Linked DNA regions of Homo sapiens: region 2 is linked to region 1. Evidence: promoter capture Hi-C in 16 types of primary human blood cells and fetal thymus (Javierre and others, 2016). All regions are on one chromosome and are shown on one strand. Each heading gives the region's core, a stretch centred on a gene start or on the middle of the fragment in contact. The rest is flanking DNA. Distances are from core to core; before and after follow the strand shown.

Region 1 (5,737 bases), core at 2,153-4,652:
AGACTCGAACCCAGTTTTCCCAACGTCCCATTCAGGGTGAAGAACATGCGCTCTGGAGTGAGAGTTCCTGGGCTCCCTCCCAGCTCCAGCACTTCCAAGACGTAGGACCCCTGAAAAGCAACTGGTCCGCTCCAAGCCTCAGTTTCTGCATCTGTAATATGGTGGTAACTTGAGCCCCCACCCCAGCCAGTTGTGCAAAGGTGGCACGGACCTGGCACAGCCTGGAAGCACAAAGTCAGTGCTGTGCTGGTGATGCTGACACAGGTCCCGGAAAGGGGAGAGGAGGCTGGGGAGCTGGGAGAGGAGGCCATCTCAGAGTGCCTCCTCCCTTACCTCCAAATGTACAGGGTCGGCAACGCACAGGAGAACCTCCCCTGAAACCGACCCAGCATCAGGGGCAGGGCTGAGGCAGAGTAGAAGCATAGTAAGGCATTTGCCCCATCACACCCCTCTACTCCTAATAGAAGGCTGGAATTCCATGTCCACTGGCCCAGCCCACCCCTGCACACCCCCACTTCTCAAACCCCAAAAATGTCTTCTTTGGGCTGAGGTTGTTTTTGGAGGGGAGGCAGTCTCCAGGCCACTGCCAGACAGCACTTCCTATGTGTTCCAGGCCCTGCTCTCCCTGGGAGCCAGCAGGGGAGAACCCAGTGCAGCTCCTGAATGCAATTCCAACTTCCCCACCAGTGACTTTGGATGTGAATCTCAACACACCTCGAGAACATGCAGGGGCAGATGGAAACTGGGGTTCACAATGGGCAGCAGGTGGGGGGTGGAGGTCCTAGGTGGGCTCAGCCTGGACAGCCTCAGCAACCCCACGCCCTGTTCCTCTCCCACCTGATCAGGGACTCCTGGAAAGCCCCACTTGGATGTCACCTTCTCCAGAAAGCCTTCTCTGATTTCCCCAGGCAGAGATGGCCGCTCCTGCTCTGGGCTCCCCCAGACCATCCTCTAGACAGCATGCCTTGTGTCTCTTCCTCAGTGTATGGTTATCGTCATGACCACCCTGAGGGTTTAATGGTGTGTGCAAGGTCCTGCAGCTTTACCACTCGACATCAGCAGGCAGCCTCCCCTCTTGGCTGCGGTTTTCTCATCTGTAATAATGCCTTCCTCCGGGCAGGTAGAGGGACAGAGTGTAGAAGGAATGTGCTACAAAAGCAGCCCTGGCAGGGTTAGGGGACCTGTGACCGGTGCAGGGGCACAGGGCCCGAGCTGGGAAGGGCACCACACCGGGCTCAACATCCTGCCCTTGATGCCCTGGGGTTTTGGGGTTTGGGGGTTTTGATCAAGGGGGCTCCACATTTTCATATTTTCATTTTGCATGGGGCCTTGCAAGTGATGGAGGCAGGGCAGCAGGCTGTGGTCTGGACCTGCCGCCTGCCCCCTTCGCTGGCTTCCCTGGGCATGTCCCTCCATGTTTTCATCTATATATGGGCTCATAGAAATAAATCAGATCAGGCAAAGCAGCAGCCAAAATGATCCCCATCGTCTCCTCCTGCAGCCTAGACAGACATCAATCATGGATGATCATGGCTGTCTCCTGTTGACCCTCGGAATCCACCTCAACACAGATCTCCGCCCGTTCCAGCAGCGCCAGCCTGGGTGCCACTTGCTGTGCGTGGAGCTTCAGACCCAGCCCAGGTGCCAGCCCATGGCCACCTCCTCCAGGAACTCCCCTAACTCACAGGTCCACATACTCTAAAGTGGACTTCTTTGGGGAAGGAGGCGAGGCCTGGTGGGAAACCCAGACAGGTAGGTGCTCCATCCAGTTGACAAGCACTGGGTGGGGGCGGGAGGGTGGGGGGGAGGTCCTAGGTTGAGTGAACCAATCAGACATGGGCCCCACCCCCTCCAGAGAGCAGCTGTGGGAAGGCTGTGCCCACTGGACCCTGGCAGAGAGCAGGAAGGGCTGGAGGACCCGTATGCCCCTGGGCAGCTCTCTTGGCCTCCTGGTCTCAGTGTTCCTGTCTGTCCATGGCAGTGGGGAGGGACGGCGCATATCCAGTGTTGTACCCCTGCCTCTCCTACCCACCCGCCACTCTCCTGTACCAGGCTCTGAGGGTAAGCCCCCACTTCTCCCCTTCCTTGGAGCCAGGGAATAGGTCACAGAAGTTGGCACGAGATGGGGTCTTAGGAGCTCCCAGCAGGCTGGCGGGTGGTGTGACAGTCCTGCTGTGCGATGATCTCATCATCAGGTGGGAGGGGTCCTTCCTGTCTGCCCCTGGGCCCACTGACGCCCGTTTCTTATGAGTACGGGGGATGGGGGAGCAGGTAGCAAGTGTAGACCGAGAACATTAAAAGGAGATGATACAACTCAGCTGGGAGTGGGGGACAGCCCCCCAATGCGTGACCTTGAGCAAGTCCCCGAGCCTCCGTGAAGTGGGGCTCTTGAACACACCCCAGAGGGCAACAGTTCTCCATTTCCAGGCCTGAGCTGACAGCACCGCGCCCACAAACCTCGCTGACCTCTGACTGCTCCGAGAGGGGGCTGTGGCCCGGGCGCTGTGGGCAACTCCTTCGTGGGTCTCCTGCGGGGCGCCCTGGAGAGGCTCGGTGAGGAAAGAGGCCCCAAGTGGCAACGCCCAGGGCTGCCGGCTCCCGCGCCCCCTCCTCGATTTCCAGCCTGGTCTGAGCTCACAGGGGAAGACCCGAGATCCTGCTCTCAGTTGGCGGACCCCACCGCAGTCTGGGACGGAAGCCCCCTCCCTGGCCCGAATCCGCTCCACACCCCAAGTCTGGCCCAAGAGAAACGTGGGCGTCAAGGCCTCGGGCTTCCTGAGCCGGTTGTCACTGCCCCCACCGCGCACGTGGAGCGTGCGGCAGAGCCCAGGGGTCTAGGGAGGGACCAAGGGCTGGGGGCGGAGTTACAGTGCGGGGGCGGAGCCTCGGCGTCTCAGGACCCAACCAGGTCGGGTCAGGTTTGGAGGCGGAGCTGGCGCCGAGAGGCGGGGCGCAGGATGCGGTGCCGCGGGGCAGCAGAACAGAACCGAATAGGTCTCAGACTCCCAGCGCGGCCTGGGGACATGACCTCCGGGCCAAAGAGGAGTGGGGGAGGCTAGAGGTCTCCCCGGGGCGCGGGCGGGGCCGAACCAGGAAGGGGCGGGGCATCGAGCGGGGCGGGGACAGTGCCTTGAAGGCCCAGACGGACAGGGGCGGGGCCGCAGCGCTGGGGTCGGAGCCAGCGCCGTAAAGAGCGAGGCGGGCGGGGGCGCGGTCGCGGCTCTGGGGGCGGAGCCAGAGCAACGAAGAGCCGGGCTGGCGGGGGCGTGGCCGCGGCGCTGGGGGCGGAGCCGGAGAGGTGCAGGGCCCGGCAGGAGGCACGGGGCGGGGCCGGAGCGCCGGGGGCGGGGCGGGAGGTGCGGCGGCCGACGACGCTCAGGCCCGGCCCCGCCCCGTGCCTCCAGCCCGCCAGGAGCGCCCTCGCAGTGGCCGCCTGCTCCGCCGCTCGCCGCCCGCGGGTTCCATTGAGAAAAGCCGAGCGGCCGCGGCGGCGGCGGCGAGTGCGCGGGAGCGGAGGAGCCGGCACCCGCCCGTCGGGCAGTCCGCGCGCCCGCAACGCAGGACCGTGGCCTCTCGGGCCTCCGCGGCAGCTCCAGCGGCTCCGGGGCTGGGCGCGCGGGCTGGGGGCGCGGGCCGGGGCGGCCGCGGAGACCGGGGGCCGGGGGCATGAGCGGCCCCGCGGCCCCGCCGCGCCCCCGCCGCCCGCCGCCGCCCGCCCGGGGCTAGAGGCGGCCGCCGGGAGGGCGCGCGGCGCCGGAGACATGTCCAGGCGGAAACAGAGCAACCCCCGGCAGATCAAGCGTGAGTCAAACTTTGCCCGCGGTCCCCTCCGCGCGCCCGACCCCCGCCGGAGCCCAGCCGCCAGCGCCGCCCCCGCCCGTCCCCGCTCTGCCCTGGGCGCCGGCGACCTTCACCCCGCGCCGCGCCCCCCGCGCTGTGCCAAGCGCGCCGTAATCTAATCTCCGCCGGCGGCCTGGGCCCCCGCGTCTCGGCTTGGGCACCGGGGGGTTCAGCCCAGGAGGGGGCCGCCCGGAGGCCGGGAGGAGGGTGTTTGGGGGCGCGGCCCGGGCAGCTCGGCCCCTCGCGGCCTGCCCCTCCCCCGCATCTGCGAGATGGTGCGGCGATAGGGCGGCCCCGATCTGGGCTCAGATAAAGTTTAAAATATTACATTCTGCAAGTCCCGTCCTGATAAGATCGTTCTGTCGGGACGGGCTGAAATTGTGATCTTATCTCGCGCGGTTGACTCTCCCAGGCTTTGTATCTAGAAGCGAAGAGAGAGACCTGGGAGGCAGAGGGGACACCCGGGGCCGCGGAGATGCCTGGCCAAGTGGCAGGCACCGGCCCGCGCCCACCCCCACCGGTGCCGTCGCAGAGCCGCAGGACAGGGGAGGGGGTAGCGCGCAGCTGCCGCAGCCTAGGCACTTGGCTCCAGCCCCCCAGACACCCCCACCCCGTGCCCTAGCGCTGAAGTCCTGAACCCAGGCCCCGCCAGCCTGGTGACACCTCCTGGACCCTGCAAGTGTCCCAGCCAAGGCGGCATGGGCAACAAATGGTGCCCTCGGATGCCCGCGGGCACCCCCTGGCATCCCAATGGGCTGCTCTGAGTCAGAGAAGGGCCTCCCAGGACGCAGCCCCGGGCCGGGGTCGCCCCTGCACGCCACTAAGTTTCTCGCTGGTCCGGCTCCCTGCCCGGTCAGAGGCTGCTGCCCCGCCGCCACATTGCCAGTGCCCCCGCGATGAGAACTAAGCTGTCGGGGCCACTGTCTGGCCTGGGCCTCTGGGCTGTGCCAGGAGGGAGCAAGAGCACAGGAAGCTACCCTCCCCACCCTATGCCAATAATAACTTTGCGCCTCACAGTTAGGGCCCAGACGCAGGTCTTCCTCCCCGGGGCGCCTCCCCGGAGCCTGACGGGCAGGTCGTCTGAGCCCTGCCAGGAGGCCACGACGGAAACCCGCCCGCTGCCCAGCCGTAGGCGCCCGGGCACTACCTCCTTTGTCCACACGACCACTGCCACCAGGACCCCTTGTGCGGGGCCTGTGGGAGCTTCCCTACTCAGGAGGTCTCCCGAGGCGGGGGTCACAGGCATGAACCGGTTCCCGTAACCCAACTCCCTCAGCGCAAACGGGACCTGTTTTCCGAAAGTCGCCTTCTATCGTGTCAACTCAAGTATTAAAAGCCACCCACAGGTCCCGATCCGCGCTTGTGCTCTGGTTTCTTTTTCCTTCCTTCCCTGAGCGCCTATGTTCGGTTCTGGGGTGTGTGTGTGTGTGTGTGTGTGTGTGTGTGTGTGTGTGTGGTGTTTCACTGTGATGAGAAATGCAGATAGCTCGGACAGGGAGATCGCAGGTTGGAAACCGATCTCCAGCGCTGATAAGGCCGCCAGCGCCAGCGAGAGCCCGTAGCCCAGCCCAGCGGGGCGGGCAGAGCGCGCGCACTTTGGGAACTGGGACCGCGGCGGGTGCACGGTGAGCCACCGCGGCCCATCCTCGTTGCGGCCCGGGACCGGGGCAGAGAAAGGGCCCGGACGAGGAAGGCAGGGCCGCGGACCCTCCCTGTCGCTCGCGGCCCGGGGCGCCTCCTCCCCATGGCAGATCTCAGCACGTTAAGATGCGAAGGCTGATTGTCACCAAGCGGCGGCGCCCGCCCGCCCGCCCTCTTGCCAGCGCCTGTGCCTGCCCGCTGCCCTGGCCTCACCTGCGGCCGGGCCGCGAGTGCAGAGCGGAGGGGGCCGAGCGCT
Region 2 (5,737 bases), core at 1,400-3,899, 680 kb before region 1:
TTGCTTCGCCCTGGGTAGAACTAAGTGGGCGACTCTTGGGCTAGCCCCATTTTTTCCCCTCAGACCAAACAAATGAGTGCTTTTTTCCCAGAAAAAAAATTTCACACAGTTATAAGATTTTGCAGATCCTGAGTAAGACAGTCCCTGCCGGGCGCGGTGGCTCACGCCTGTAATCCCAGCACTTTGGGAGGCCGAGGTGAGTGGATCACGAGGTCAGGAGTTCGAGACCAGCCTAGCCAACATGGTGAAACCCCCGTCTCTACTAAAACTACAAAAATTAGCCAGGCGTGGTGGTGGGCACCTGTAATCCCAGCTACTTGGGAGGCTGAGGCAGGAGAATTGCTTGAACCCAGGGGGCAGAGGTTGCAATGAGCTGAGATCAAGCCACTTCACTCCAGCTTGGGCAAAAGAGCAAAATTCCATCTTAAAAAAAAAAAAAAATGGGGGGGCCCTTCCACCTTCCCATTTAAAATGTGCCAGACACTGTTAGGTACTAAGGGCATGTCCTCAAATGTCCTAACATGGAGGACTTTTGTTTCTTCATAGGTAGGCTAGAGCTAATGATAGCACCCTGAAAGGGTACTCAATTTGTGGAGCCTGAGAAATAAAGATAGGTAATATCCAAATGCCTGCTAGGAAATTGTACTCTAGGATTTGCCTCAAATTACGTAAGAAATGGCAAAATCATCTGCAGTGCATGGAATGTTATGATTTGAAAGAGCAGAGTAAAAATGCTTATCACTACTTAGAAGATGTCATCTTTGGATGGGTAATCAAGGAATAAGGCAAATTAAGGACAAGGACAAGCCAAAATTTGGCAAAGGGAAAGCATAAATCAGGAAATAATCTAGTTTATTACTTTGTGTGTGAGTCAGCCTTTAAAAGTTCTCTTAGGCCAGGCGTGGTGGTTCATTCCTGTAATCCCAGCACTTTGGGAGGCTGAAGCGGGCTGATCACGAGGTCAGGAGTTCAAGACCAGCCTGGCCAATATGGTGAAACCCTGTCTCCACTAAAAATACAAAAAAAAAAAAAAAAATTAGCCAGGTGTGGTGGCACCCACCTGTAGTCCCAACTATTCAGGAGGCTGAGGCAAAAGAATCATTTGAACCTAGGCGGCAGAGGTTGCAGTGAGCGGAGATTGCACCACTGCACTCCAGCCTGGGCGACAAAGCAAGACTCCATCTCAAAAAAAAAAAAAAAAAAAGATGTTATCTTAGATCCAGCCAGGTGTGATGGCTCACGCCTGTAATCCTAGCACTTTGAGAGGCAGAGGCAGGCAGATCACCTGAGGTCAGGAGTTTGAGACCAGCCTGATCAACATGGTGAAACCCCATCTCCACTAAAAATACAAAATTAGACAGGCATGGTGGTGCGCACCTGTAATCCCAGCTACTCGGGAGGCTGAGTCAGGAGAATGGCTTGAGCCTGGGAGACAGAGGTTGCAGTGAGCCGAGACTGAACCACTGCACTCCAGCCTGGGCAACAGAGCTAGACTCCGTCTCAAAAAAAAAAAAAAAAAGAAGAAGTTAACTCGGCCAGGCGTAGTGGCTCACATCTGTAATCCCAGCACTTTGGGAGGCCAAGGTGGGCAGATCACGAGGTCAGGAGTTCAAAACCAGCCTGGCCAACATGGTGAAACCCCGTCTCTACAAAAATACAAAAAAATTAGCCAGGTGTGGTGGTGTGCACCTTTAATCCCAGCTACTCAGGAGGCTGAGGTAGGAGAATTGCTTGAACCGGGAGGAAAGGTTGCGGTGAGCCCAGATCACGCCATTGCACTCCAGCCTGGGCAGCAAAAGCGAAACTCTGTCTCAAAAACAAAAAAAGTTACCTTAGATCCAATCAATGACTAGTCACTGAGCAGCTGAGGAGGAATGATTTTCCAACCCACTCCAAGCCTTATCCATAAACCTAGCTCTTTAAGAAGAAAAATGAAATTTGGGGAAATAATGAGAAGAAAAGATAGCACTGGTTGAAGACCACCATGGTCTCCAGCACTGCTTGTAGGAAACCTATGTGGTGGTAGAAAAAAAAAACCGGTTAGGAGCTGAGCAGAAAGGAGCTGGAGAATTTCACAGAAACCCAGCCTGGGCATCCAGGCATGTTTATCTTCCATGACGAACTACAAAAGGCTAAATCCTCACTATTGCCCTCGGGAAATAGTTCTGTCCCCTCTAGTGTACTATGACTTTAAGAACATACGTAATCCTTTAATATTTTTCTAAAAATCCTGGGTAAACCTGAGGCAATGCACTTGAAGCCAAAAGGCTCTTCATTCACAGCACATCTGGCTGCAGTACATTACAGTGGTGCCCACTTCAGGCCGGAGACAGGGAGAGCGTATGACCTATTGAAGATTTAGGAGGATCTGGTGGATGCGGGGTTTAATACTTTTATTATCTGAAAGAAGCTTGAAGCTAAATTAGAAGGCTCTTGGATTATAGGTGTCATGGTGATTTACGTGAGACTGAAATTCTCATACTGAGAAAGACGGAATAGAACATCTAAAATGAGATCAGATCCTAAAATAGTCAAAAGATTAAGTACAAGGCTCTATTTTAGTAAAATTCACATTGTTGAAACTTTCATGGATTATCTTTAATCTGTCGCTGACTTTTAGAGTGTATCTTTTGTGTGATCAGGCGCCCTCTGCTGCCTTCAAGTTGAAGTGCAGAAGAGAAAAAAAATCTATTAATAATAGATTAAATTTTAGGAAAATATGCTAACTTCTAATTATCCTCACCACAAGTAATCAATGTGATTGGAAGGTTCTGCCAAGTGTGGTATGGATTACGTGGCTCTTTGCACGTTTCCCAGCAGGAAAGTGGGAATAATGAACTAGTTCACCTATTACACAGGATTCTTGGGAAAATCAAGTGAAACAATAATAAAGCTTAGGAAAGAGGCCAGGCGCGGTGGCTCACGCCTGTAATCCCAGCACTTTGGGAGGCTGAGGCGGGTGGATCACGAGGTCAGGAGATCAAGACCATCCTGGCTAACACGGTGAAACCCCGTCTCTACTAAAAATACAAAAAATTAGCCGGGCGCGGTGGCGGGCGCCTGTAGTCCCAGTACTCGGGAAGCTGAGGCAGGAGAATGGCGTGAACCCGGGAGGCGGAGCTTGCAGTGAGCCAAGATCGCACCATTGCACTCCAGCCTGGGCGACAGAGTGAGACTCCGTCTCAAAAAATAAAAATTAAAAATAAATAAAATAAAGCTTAGGGAAGTAAAAAAGCAAAACACAAAGGCTTTTTTTTTTTTTTTTTGAGACAGAGTCTCACTCTGTCACCCAGGCTGGAGTGCAGTGGCACTATCTCAGCTCACTGCAACCTCCGGCTCCCAAGTTCTTACCTCAGCCTCCCAGGTAGCTGGGATTACAGGCATCTGCCACCACACCCAGCTAATTTTTGTATGTTTTATAGAGACAAGGTTTCACCATGTAGGCCAAGCTGGTCTCAAACTCCTGACCTCACGTGATCCACCCGACTGGGCATCTTAAAGTGCTGGGATTACAGGCGTGAGCCACCATGCTGGCCTTACTGAATTTTTCCCACTTCTTTGAATCCATTCCAGAGAGAGGAATAATAAGATTTCCAACTATAATCAGGGATTTATCTATGTGTTGCTTATATACAATAAACTGTATATATTTCAAGTGTGCACAGGTGGCTGGGGTGAGGCAGGTGGCTGCTGAGGAGCAAGAGGGATCTACAGTTGTCCCCTGCCCTATGAGAAGGGCCACCCACTCAGGAGGGGCCTCAAGGGATGATGAGAAATGAGTATGGAATTTGTCAGCCTTGAAGTTCCAAATTGGAAACCTGGAAACATGTGTCCCGTCTTCTTCATCAAGATTGTCCAATTTTTTTTCTTTTTTTTTTTTTTTTTTTTTGAGACGGAGTCTCACTCTGTCTCCCAGGCTGGAGGGCAGTGGCGCTATCTCGGCTCACTGCAAGCTCCGCCTTCCGGGTTCACGCCATTCTCCTGCCTCAGCCTTCCAAGTAGTTGGGAAAACAGGCGCCCGCCACCATGCCCGGCTAATTTTTTTTTGTATTTTTAGTAGAGACGGGGTTTCACCATGTTAGCCAGGATGGTCTCGATCTCCTGACCTCGTGATCCGCCCGCCTCAGCCTCCCAAAGTGCTGGGATTACAGATATGAGCCACCGCGCCCGGCCGATTTTCCAGTGTCATAGCATAAAGCAATAAGTGATGTTCTTCTAATTAAAACAATAAATTAAAGTGTAGAATTTAATATGTATTAATACTATCAAGGTCTGGCCAGGCACAGTGGCTCACGCCTGTAATCTCAGCACTTTGGGAGGCCGAGGCAGGCAGATCACAAGATCGGGAGATCGAGACCATCCTCGCTAACACAGTGAAACCCCGTCTCTACTAAAAATAGAAAAATTAGCCAGGCGTGGCGGCATGTGCCTGTAGTCCCAGCTGCTGGAGAGGCTGAGGCAGGAGAATGGCGTGAACCCGGGAGGCAGAGCTTGCAGTGAGCTGAGATCGCGCCACTGCACCCCAGCCTGGGCGACAGAGTGAGATTCCATCTCAAAAAAAAAAAAAATACTATCAAGGTCAAATAAAAATATAGAGATGGATCTCTAAACAAAACACCTTGTATGGGAATCATAGAATTATATTTTGAGGCATATCCACAGGCTGGGGTGAACTTCAATATGTCCAAAGAACAAAGAGAAGGTTGGGGGTTTTATTAAAAAGAGAAATGTGGCCAGGCGCGGTGGCTCATGCCTGTAATTCCAACACTTTGGGAGGTCAAGGTGGGTGGATCATTTGAGATCAGGAGTTCAAGACCAGCCTGGCCAACATGGTGAAACCCCATCTCTACTAAAAATACAAAAGTTAGCTGGACGTGGTGACATATGCCTGTAATCCCAGCTACTCGGGAGGCTGAGGCAGGAGAACTGCTTGAACCTGGGAGGCAGAGGTTGTAGTGAGCCAAGACTGTGCCACTGCACTCCAACCTGGGCAACAGAGTGAGACTCCGTCTCAAAAAAAAAAAAAAAAAAAAAAAAAAGAAATGTGGCTGGGCATGATGGCTCACACCTGTAATCCTAGCACCTTGGGAGGCCAAGGTGGGCAGATCATTTGAGGTCAGGAGTTCAAGACAAGCCTTGCCAATATGGTGAAACCCGTCTCTACTACAAACACAAAAATTAGCTGGGCGTGGTGGCACACACCTGTAATCCCAGCTACTCGGGAGGCTGAGGCAGGAGAATCACTTGAACCCGCGAGATGGAAGTTGCAGTGAGCTGAGATCGCACCGAGATCACCTGGGTGACAGAGCGAGACTCAGGCTCAAATAAATAAATAAATAAATAAATAAATAAATAAAATAAAAAGAAACTCTTGATTAGTTTCCATTTTTCTAGGGTTTTACAAAATGGAATCCTACAGCCAGGGACAGTGGCTCCCACCTGTAATCCCAGCACTTTGGAAGTCTGAAGTGAGTAGATCACCTGAGGTCAGGAGTTCAAGACCAGCCTGGCCAACATGGCAAAACCCCATCACTACTAAAAATATAAAAATTGGCCAGGCTGTGAGATCGTCTCCCATAGCATTGAGCTGATTTCTGTGGTTCCTTAGGTCATGGGGGTAGGGTGAGGCCTGCTTCAATCTTACCCTTTTGGGGCAGAACTCTTGAAATCTTGGCTTAATCTGGGGAGTTCTCTCTTAGATCCCACCTTGGACACCCTTGGATTTGATTATGTTTTT

What was found. The method cuts DNA at HindIII sites, captures the fragments that hold promoters and counts their contacts. A CHiCAGO score of 5 or more calls a contact.
Region 2: a contact is called between a fragment that was not itself captured here and the fragment with the promoter of ZFPM1 in region 1, in 1 of 17 cell types (activated CD4 T cells). The highest score is 5.2, in activated CD4 T cells.

Annotation. Positions count from the first base shown.
Region 1 is chr16:88,449,878-88,455,614 of GRCh38, forward strand. ZFPM1 (zinc finger protein, FOG family member 1) reads left to right here and starts at 3,403. Exons shown (of 10, transcript NM_153813.3): 1 at 3,403-3,801. The coding sequence starts at 3,762. RefSeq lists silencers at 3,128-3,427, 3,438-3,527, 3,988-4,117, 4,338-4,407, 5,348-5,737. The HindIII fragment of the contact is 8,831 bases long and covers 1-5,737 here.
Region 2 is chr16:87,766,734-87,772,470 of GRCh38, forward strand. All of the region lies in intron 1 of LOC105371399 (a long non-coding RNA gene), which reads left to right. All of the region lies in intron 3 of LOC102724467 (a long non-coding RNA gene), which reads right to left. Among named protein-coding and RNA genes, the nearest start is that of KLHDC4, 3.6 kb to the left of the region's middle. The HindIII fragment of the contact is 483 bases long and covers 2,409-2,891 here.